Regions from separate parts of the Homo sapiens genome. Here regions 1 and 3 are each linked to region 2. Evidence: promoter capture Hi-C in 16 types of primary human blood cells and fetal thymus (Javierre and others, 2016). All regions are on one chromosome and are shown on one strand. The core of a region is centred on a gene start or on the middle of the fragment in contact, and the rest is flanking DNA. Distances in the headings are between cores, read along the strand shown.

Region 1 (3,183 bases), core at 479-2,978, 540 kb after region 2:
TTGGACTATTCCAGAATTATAAAATGTTAAAAATAGAAGAGACTTTATTTATTATCTCTTTCAACTTTCTCAATTAAAAAAGTAAAATTCTTTGGAGTTTATCAAATCTTGTTTATTACTATTTGAGTTGTTAATTCTGTAAAGTTGTTAATTCTGTAACAATACAGCCACCAAAAAGAACAAGATCATGTCCAAGATCATGTCCTTTGCAGGGACATGGATAGAGCTGGAGGCCATTATCCTTAGCAAACTAACACAGGAACAGAAAACCAAATACTGCATGTTCTCACTTATAAGTGGGAGCTAAATGATGAGAACATATGGACACATAGAGGGGAACAACACATACTGGGACCTTTTGGAGAATGGCGGGGGGTGGCAGGGGGAGGATCAGGAATAATAACTAATGATATTAGGCTTAATACCTGTGTGATGAAATAATCTCTACAACAAACCCACATGACACAAGTTTACCCATGTAACATACCTGAACATGTACCCCTGAACTTAAAATAAAAGCATAAAAAAGTTACTATAATGCATATTTCCTTATTTTATGGTTGAAATGGCAAATAATGATGTGATTTCCCTCCAGGTCACACACTGGCAGAGCTGAGTTTGGAAACAGTTTTATTACTTAATTGCTTCTTTTCAAAAACATTTTAGAGGCAGGGCCTTGCTCTGTCACCAGGCTAGAATGCAGTGGCACAAACATAGCTCACTGCAGCCTTGAACTTCTGGCTCAAGTGATCCTCTCACCTCAGCCTCTTGAGTAGCTAGGACTATAGGCATGTGCCACCATACCTAGTTAATTTAAAAAAAAATTGTAGAGACGTGGTCTACGTCATCCACACTGTTCTTGAATCCCTAGACTTAAGCAATCCTCCCACCTCAGCCTCCCAAGGAGCTGAGATTACTGGCATGAGCCACTATGTCTGGCTAGATTACTTCTTAAATTACACAATGCCCAACCCAGAACAGCAATAATTGTGTGTTTGTACATTGTACTATGTATCCATAAGCAATCTTTGTTCAGATGTATGACAGTGAGAATGAGCGTTGGGAAAGCTATAACAACAGGCGGAAGCCTAGTACCTGGCACCAGGAACCAGATAAACACCATGGTAGTGCTTTGGAACACCGAAATTTGGTAGCTCCTGAGGAAAAAAGGAGTAATAGTATACAGAACCATAAGTGTTTTCAGAAAATATGAAATCAATGAGTTGTATCATATTTGTGGTAAGTGAAACCTAGACTTTGGAAATGACATTCAGGCATTAGGAATATTAGTAGTTCTAGATAAATGTCACAAGCCCATAAGCAAGTGAAAGTTTTTGTCCTGGTTAAATACCCTAATATAGTACATTTTAATTTTCCTGTTTGTTCACCCATTCAACAATAATTACTGTTGCCATCATGGTACTAAGTGCAGGAAATAAATTAAGAGAATAAGACTGATATGCTTTCTAGTCTCATGGAACTCACAGGCTAGACAGGGAGATAGCCATTAAAAATTGAAATACACTAATTTAAAATCAAAATGTTTAACATGCTCTTCCATCTATTTCAAGGACACTTCCCACCATCTCCACCTGGCAACACTTATTTATCCTTCAGATCTCAGCTTATATATTATCTCTTTAGTCTTCCTTTACCACCAAATATAAATTAATATTTTATTTCACCTAACAAACATTTTTAAATGACTTTTACCCAAAAGAAAGGCAATAACCAATGCTGGCAAGGATGTGGAGAAAATGGAACTCTTGTACCTTGTTTGTGGGAATGTCAATTAGTACAGCCACAATGGAGAATAGTATGGAGGTTCCTCAAATTAAAAACAGAAATACCATATGATCCAGCAATCTCACTGCTAGGTATATACTCAAAAGAAAGGAAATCAGTATATCAAAGAGATGTCTGCATCCAATGTTTATTGCAGCACTATTCACAATAGCTAAGATTTGGAAGCAACTTAAATTGCTTCCTAAGTGCCCATCAACAGATGAATGGATTGAAAAATGTGGTACACAATGAAGTACTATTTAGCCATAAAAAAGAATAGGATCCCATCATCTGCAACAACACGGATGGAATTGGAATTGGAGGTCATTATGTTAAGGGAAATAAGCCTGGCACAGAAAGACAAACTTCCCATATTTTCACTTATTCATGGGAGCTGAAAATTATAACAGTTGAACTTATGGAGATAGAAAGTAGAAGGATGGTTATCAGAGGCAGGTAAGGGTAGTAGGGGTGAGGGAGTAGTGGGGATGGTTAATGGGTACAAACACAGATAGGATGAATAATATCTAGTATTTGATAACACAACAAGGTTACTACAGTCAACAAATAATATATCGTACATTAAAAAATAAGAGTATAATTGGAATGTTTGTAACACAAAAAAATGATAAATGCTTGAGGTGATGGATACCCCAGTTACCCCGATGTAATTTTTAGGCGTTGAATGCCTGTATCAAAATTTCTCATGTATGCTATAAATTATATGCACCTACCCACAAAAATTAAAAATAAAAAAATACGTACACAGTGGGAAAATATATATTTTCTAATGATATATAAAATAAGACAGGGGTCTCCAACCCCAAAGCCATGGACCAGTATCTGTCCATGGCCCATTAGGACCTTGGCCACACTGCAGGAGGTAAGCAGTGGAGCAAGTATTACTGCCTGAGCTCTGCCTCGTGGCAGAACAGTGGTTGTTTTAGATTCTTACAGGAGTGCAAACCCTATTGTGAACTGTGCATGCAAGGGGTCTAGGTTGTGCACTCCTTATGAGAGAGAATCTAATGCCTGATGATCTGAGGTGGAGCAGTTTCATCCTGAAACCATCCTCCCCAGCCCCGACCCATGGAAAAATTGTCTTCCACGAAACCAGTTCTTGGTTCCCACAAGGTTGAGGACCACTGAAATAAGGCTCTAATATCTAGAATATATGAAAAGAAACTCTTACAAATCAACAGCAAAAATACAAATAACCTGATTATAAAAATTGGCAAAGGACTTGAAAAGACATTTCTCTAAAGAAGATAGACAAATGTCCAACAAGCAGATGACAGATGAGCAATGTCATTTGTCACTAAGGGACTGCAAATCCAAACCACAATGAGATACTGCTTCATACCTAGGATGGGTATTAGAAAAAGTAAAGTAAGTGTT
Region 2 (2,864 bases), core at 329-2,828:
TTAGCATTGAAATGTATTTCTTTGTAGTACTACTTAGGATAGAGGCAAAATGCCCTATATACTTTCACAGACCGCATATTGTAAAATAATAGTTGACTCAGCAAGAAATATTCGTGTGTTTATTCCTGAGGCACGGAACTATATAAAACTCTTTTGAAAGATTTTCTTTTTTTAGGATGTAAACTCCATGGGGATATTTAATACTCAACTATTTATTGAGCATCTGCCATTCTGCTGAACATTCAAAACTGGTGTTTAAACTTCATTTAGCGATGAAAGAATCCTCTGTTACGCAGAATAACCTAGTCCTCAAGGGTTTCAGACTGCTCAAGTTTTAGTTTCATATAAAGTTTGTCTGCATATTAACAACTAAACGGTCCATTTCACATACAATTTGTCTACGTATTAAGAACTTAACGGTCCATTACGAAGAACTAAACCTTTCATTATTTTCATTAGAAACAGATCTGAGATCCAAGCAACTGCTTTAAAAATTAATTTTTCAAACGCAATCTGTTCTTAAATTGGTAGTTACTACACACACACAAACACCTGTACAAAAAACTTAGGTGCTGGAATGTTTCACCAAATAAAGTGACTGAAAATGGAAATTTGCTTTTGTTTCCCTGTTTGTAATGTTGAAACCAGCAATGGGGTGTTTGAAATACAATGCTTTCCCCCAACTTATGAGGAAAGGAAAATAAACTTTCAAGGGTAAGACCAAAAATCCACCCACAATCACTCAATCTAATCCTGAAGCGAAAAGCCACGAGCGCGTCTGACTTTAAATTGAGGATGCAGTCCGTCGCCTCCAAGGGCCCGGGCGGAGGCTTAGCATATGCGAGAGCCCGGGAGCAGACAGCGCCGCAGTCCCGGCGAGGTCCCGGATCTGCACATTGTTTGCTAGTTTTCAACCGAAGGCACGACCGGGAATCAATCTGGGACCGCCGCTGTAAACGGCAGAGCGCTCGAGGGGCCGGGTCAGGATCCGTTCCTTCTTAGGCAAAACACTGAACGGGGGCTCCTTCCTTCAGACCCCAGAGGCCGGTCAGAAGAAAAGAAGCTGAGGACCCGGCGGGAGAAGTCTGAAGAATCAATGGTGGAACCACGAGGGGAGGAAAGGATTAAAGGGACTGCAGGCGGAGGAGGGGCTTCTTACCCTGGAAATGTCCTTTACTGTGGATCCTCATGGCTCCGGAGTTCATGGCAGTCGCCCGGCACCTACATGCTGGGTCCGGAGAAAGTGTCGCACCGGGCAGCCGCGAAAGCACGGCTTCCCCCGGCCTGTTGACAGGACGGCCGCCTCTCTCCTTCCGCCAGCTACGGCCTCTACGCAGTAGAGGTACCGCGTCTGCAGGTCGGGTTTCCGGGGCCGGATCCGGCTCCAAGGCGCGGAGGAGGAAGGCGCAAAGCACAAACGAGTGGGCTGCGGCGGTTGAAGATTTGAAAACGCGTCACGCGGCCGCGGCGCCGATACGCGCGCCCCGCCCCGTCTCACGCCACGCGCCGTGCCCCGCCTCGCGCTCGCCCCTCGTGCCTGCCTTCTCGCGCTGCGCGCCCCGCCCCCTCACGCCGCCGTCCTTCTCGCGCCTCGCTCTGGCCCTGCAGGTTGTGTTTCCGCCTCTACCCCGCCTCCATTCCGTTGCTCTCTCAGTCTCAGACCCGGGCTCTCGGTCCGCCGCTTCAGGTCTTGGCGCAGCCTCAGAGAGTTGGCGCGGCTCTGTGTTGACCAAACCTAGTGGATGCAGTTAGCGCCGGAGCCCGGCCCCGCCCGTCACCAGGGTTATTCCCGCCTTCTAGGTTTGCCAGGACTGCCGGCCCTGCAGCTGCCTTCTGCCCCAGGTATGCTAATTTTCCACTGGTCGGACGTCTGGGAAGCTGAAGGCGAGGGGCTTTGGCTGAGTCCGGACTCAGCTCTGGCCGGGCCCGGGGCCGGGGCCGGAACCGGAGCCGGACAGCGGCGGCAGCCGCAGCCCCTGCTCAGCGCGCCCTGGGTCGCACAGCAAGCGGGGTTTTCCCGCGGTCACTGCCGACCCCACCGGCTGAGGACAGCTGCAGAGGGACGTGCGGGAGTGAGGGCGGCCCCGGGGGGCGTCTGAGGGAGGGTCTGGCCAGGCGGCCCCGGCCTTGACGGCAGCGCCACCGCAGAACGCCTCCAGGTCACTTTGTGTCCTTGGGTAGTTGGCTATTTGCGCTGTCCTGTTGACTTTTATTGTATTCAGACCTGTTTTCTTTTAGTTGAGTGTAAGTTTATTTCAACAATGAAGGAGTGGAAAGTAACATCTCATTTTTTTTTCCTGTAAAACAGAGATTAAAGATCAAATTAAAATGCTTGTGAATATATTTTAATTTTATAAGTTGGAACATGCCTCTCCAAAAAAAAAAAAAAATCTGTTTCTTCAGGAGGAAGAGGATATTTTGAACTATTTTGCATTCCTCTACTCCAGGCCATAATAGGCACTCCTGTAGTGGTTGATTTTTTTACCTGGTAGCTCAAGGAAGTCAGAGTATCAGCGTTACGGTTTTGCAGGTAGGTACCTTAAAGAATAGACAAGGGTGGGTTGTGACAAGATTAGCTGGAGAACGCAGAGAACAGGTTTGCTAAGGGAAATGAGAGTTTGGTTTTAGACAGGTTTATGTTGAAGGGCCTGGGGCGACAGTCATGGAACTATGCTTATTAGACAGTTAAAGATGTTTATGACTCGAGAGAAATGTCTAGCAGAAGTGGACATGGGAAGAGGAAATAGAGATTGATTTGATATCTCTCCAATAAAATATTTCTGCATCAAGGTCTATTGATGTCAATCATGGGGCAATTCATTAGAGGTTAACAGATCTTGAGTGGTGGAAGGAAGTGTAGTTTG
Region 3 (3,291 bases), core at 462-2,961, 520 kb after region 2:
TTACTGTGTCTCACTGCTTTTTGCTTTTTTGAGGTCTGAGATAATTCTTTCCTTCAGCTTTCTCATCAACTTTTTTTTTCTCCAGTTCTAATTTTACTGTTGTTATGAGCTAATGCTAAAATATTTTATCTTGAAGGTCTAGAAAAGCAATGTTTACCTCTAGTATAACTTGATTCTGTACTTTTGGCTTTTAAAATACATCTAAATTGTCAATGTAATCAAAAAACTAATGCTGTTCCTAAGAGTGAGGTAATCCTATGCTATAATCATAACCTTGAATATACTCTTCCTAGGTCCAGTTAAATCCAAGCACTTTTTTCATCAGGTTTGATGTCCAGGTTATCTAAATGGGCTTCCCATAAGCAGAAGTAGTCACACTGCAGAATTTTTCTTTGCCTTTTTGGTAACTGTCTTAAGAAACAAGATTGTATAATTCCTATGCTGTCTTTATTAGGTTTTTTTGGTTGCCAAAACTAAGATTTAAAAGGCTTAAGGTTTTTACATCATGTAACCTTCTGTATTGCTTCTAAAGCATTTTCATTATCACTTTGGCTAAATGAGTAACTATTATTTTACAATGACCTCTGCTTCTGTTTTGATCAAATGTTTTCAGCCTTTTAACATGTTTAATAAACAGCCTCAAAATCAAAATCCTAAATTAAGTCTCTGACTTAGTCTTATTGCTGGGATTTATTAAAGTTATAAAAATTAATCACTACAAGACTGTAGAATCTTTTTACAGCTTTTAGTCACACCATGAACTCCATTATCACCATAATATAGTTTGGATGTCCCCTCCAAATCTCATGTTGAAATGTAACGCCCAGTGTTGGAGGTGGGGCCTGGTGGGAGGTGGCTGGATCATGGGAGCAGAGCCCTCAAGAATGGCTTGGGCTGTCCCCTTGGTGACAAGTGAGCCCTCACTCTGATTCACACCAGATCTGGTTGTTTAAAAGTGTGTGGCACCTCTTCCTCACTGTCACTCTCTCTTTCTTGCTCTTGTTGTCACCATGTGAAGTGCCTGCTCCTGCTTCACCTTCTGCCATGATTGTAAGGTTCCTGAGGACTTTCCAGAAGCCGATACCAGCACTATGCTTCCTGTATAGCCTGCAGAACTGTGAGCCAATTAAACTTCTTTTTTGAAAATAAATTACCCAGCCTCAGGTATTTCTTTATATCAATGCAAAAATGGCCTAACACATACCACCTCCACCCTGATAATTATATATACTAGAAAAGAATCAGTTAAAGGGCCAGGCGTAGTGGCTCACACCTGTAATCCCAGCATGTTGGGAACTGGAGGCAGGCGGATCACTTGAGGTCAGGAGTTTGAGACTAGCCTGGCCAACTTGACAAAACCCCATCTCTACTAAAACTACAAAAAGTTAGCTGGGCATGGTGGTGCATGACTGTAATCCCAGCTACTCAGGATGCTAAGTTGGGAGAATTGCTTAAACCCAGGGAGCAGAGGTTGCAGTGAGCTGAGATTGCACCAATGCACTCCAGCCTGGGCAACGGAACGAGACCATGTTTCAAAAAAAAAAGAAAAATAAAAGAAAAAAAATCCGTTAAAGGACTCCCTCTAGTTCCTTAAAAGGGTCCTTATCAAGTGCTATTAACTAATCCTTGTGCCTTACAGTTACAGGGCTTTGACTCCTGAGTACATATAGCTCATCTAAAGAAGGCACTGACTCCTGCCAGTATCTGATAGCAAGCTGAAGCTAATCAAAGCCTTGTCTTTAGACCTGGACAATCAAAGTAAACTATTTTCATGAGACCTACAGACAGAGACATAGGGACAGGCCTGTATTCAAAACATTAAGATTCATTTAATAATTTTGCCTATATCTGAATATAATTTTCTATGCCTTGATATTAAATAATTTAAGTATTTGGCTACGTATGGGCTTCTTTTCATGTCATTCTCATAACTAGGTAGGGCTTATGACATTTTTGTTTAAAACATTAATTCCTTATGTTTTGTTTTCCTCTATAATTTGAAACTATTTAGTCCTTCCAGGCCCAGAGACTACCACATGAGATTGTAAGGGCTTGTTGTGGGGAATAAAATCAATTCAGACCCTCCAAATCAAGGTCAGGCAAACTGCCTCTATAGCTGAACAAAATGTTGTATTTTATATGGCTAATTGCTACAAGTCAAGATTAAAATAGCTTAATGTATAGAATTTATAAATAAGCAAATTTTATAACCGTCCCATTTGGCTTTTGGCTCTTATGTTGCTTAAAAGGGGTTTTAAGGTTAAGGAGTGCCTGCCCACCTCCATTCCCATCTGGCCTAGAAAGTTTAATTGGCCATAAGTCTTTTGTTTAAGTCCCTTGGCCATAGTGGTCCCACCAAGGGACATGATGGATCCAGGGCAGGTAGCACACCACCCTGACATCAATACTGGACAAAATAAGAGCTTGGCCATTGATGGCATACCTTAACAAAAAAAAGGGGAACTATAAACTAAAATAAATAAGTTTTTAAAAGTTCTAAGCCCTTTCCCAACAAAATGGACCCTCTTCTTGGCCAAAGGGCATCCAAAACACCTGAAAACTAATTCAGGCCATGAGGGGAAGCAGGGAGATTGGACATGACTTGCCATATCTTTCCTCTTCTTGGAATTCAGTCACAACTGACTAGCTTAGCATTAAAATAGAAATCATAAGATTGACAAAACAGACTCTTTATGGCAATAAAATACCAAATTATAAATAGAATCTAAGATCACGTAAGGCAAGGGTTAAGTCTCTATTGCAGGGTAAACAGTCATATGTTACATGCACGTTTGTTCAATATTCATGTGTCAGAACCACCTCCATAAATATTCATAACTCTGCTGTTCAACCAGGTGACTTAGTCATATTAAAGACTTGGAAAGAAGGACCTCCTATAGACAACTTTCTCCAAAGTGGAGAGGACCCTATCAAGTGCTTCTAAGTACCTCTAGTGGAGTAAGGGAATACACACTTGGGTACATTCATCCAAAATTAAACCTGCCTCTCATAAAGTCCCACAGGCATTCAACGTGGTGACCACTGTTCCAGCACACTCTTGTGAGCCAATAAAGAATCCTGTGGCTTCTCTTCAAAAAAAGAATCCATCCAGTGGATAAGTACTACTCTCAAAATGAAATTACTAGTTTTAATATTAAACTTGATCTATTATAATATTAGAGCTAATTTGTTTACAGAATGGGCACAAACTACGGCCTCCCTTCTAAACCAGAAAAACTGTTGGGTACGCAGTGAATTACCTCTTTCATCAACCTCAGGCTTACCTTGGCA

What was found. Contacts are between HindIII fragments. The CHiCAGO score rates a contact against its expected background, and 5 or more counts as called.
Region 1: a contact is called between a fragment that was not itself captured here and the fragment with the promoter of SLC25A40 in region 2, in 4 of 17 cell types (neutrophils, naive CD8 T cells, naive CD4 T cells and 1 more). The highest score is 10.5, in neutrophils.
Region 3: a fragment that was not itself captured here is called in contact with the fragment with the promoter of SLC25A40 in region 2 in 9 of 17 cell types (non-activated CD4 T cells, fetal thymus, monocytes and 6 more); the score reaches 9.4 in non-activated CD4 T cells.

Annotation. Positions count from the first base shown.
Region 1 is chr7:87,334,076-87,337,258 of GRCh38, reverse strand. All of the region lies in intron 2 of TP53TG1 (TP53 target 1), which reads left to right. Among named protein-coding and RNA genes, the nearest start is that of TP53TG1, 9.8 kb to the left of the region's middle. The HindIII fragment of the contact is 9,846 bases long and covers 1-3,183 here.
Region 2 is chr7:87,875,074-87,877,937 of GRCh38, reverse strand. SLC25A40 (solute carrier family 25 member 40) reads left to right here and starts at 1,578. Exons shown (of 12, transcript NM_018843.4): 1 at 1,578-1,842. DBF4 (DBF4-CDC7 kinase regulatory subunit) reads right to left here and starts at 1,445. Exons shown (of 12, transcript NM_006716.4): 1 at 1,160-1,445. The coding sequence starts at 1,205. RefSeq lists enhancers at 1,166-1,285, 1,473-1,982 and silencers at 1,346-1,605, 1,736-2,185. The HindIII fragment of the contact is 3,397 bases long and covers 1-2,864 here.
Region 3 is chr7:87,351,409-87,354,699 of GRCh38, reverse strand. All of the region lies in intron 3 of CROT (carnitine O-octanoyltransferase), which reads right to left. Among named protein-coding and RNA genes, the nearest start is that of CROT, 7.4 kb to the right of the region's middle. The HindIII fragment of the contact is 7,253 bases long and covers 1-3,291 here.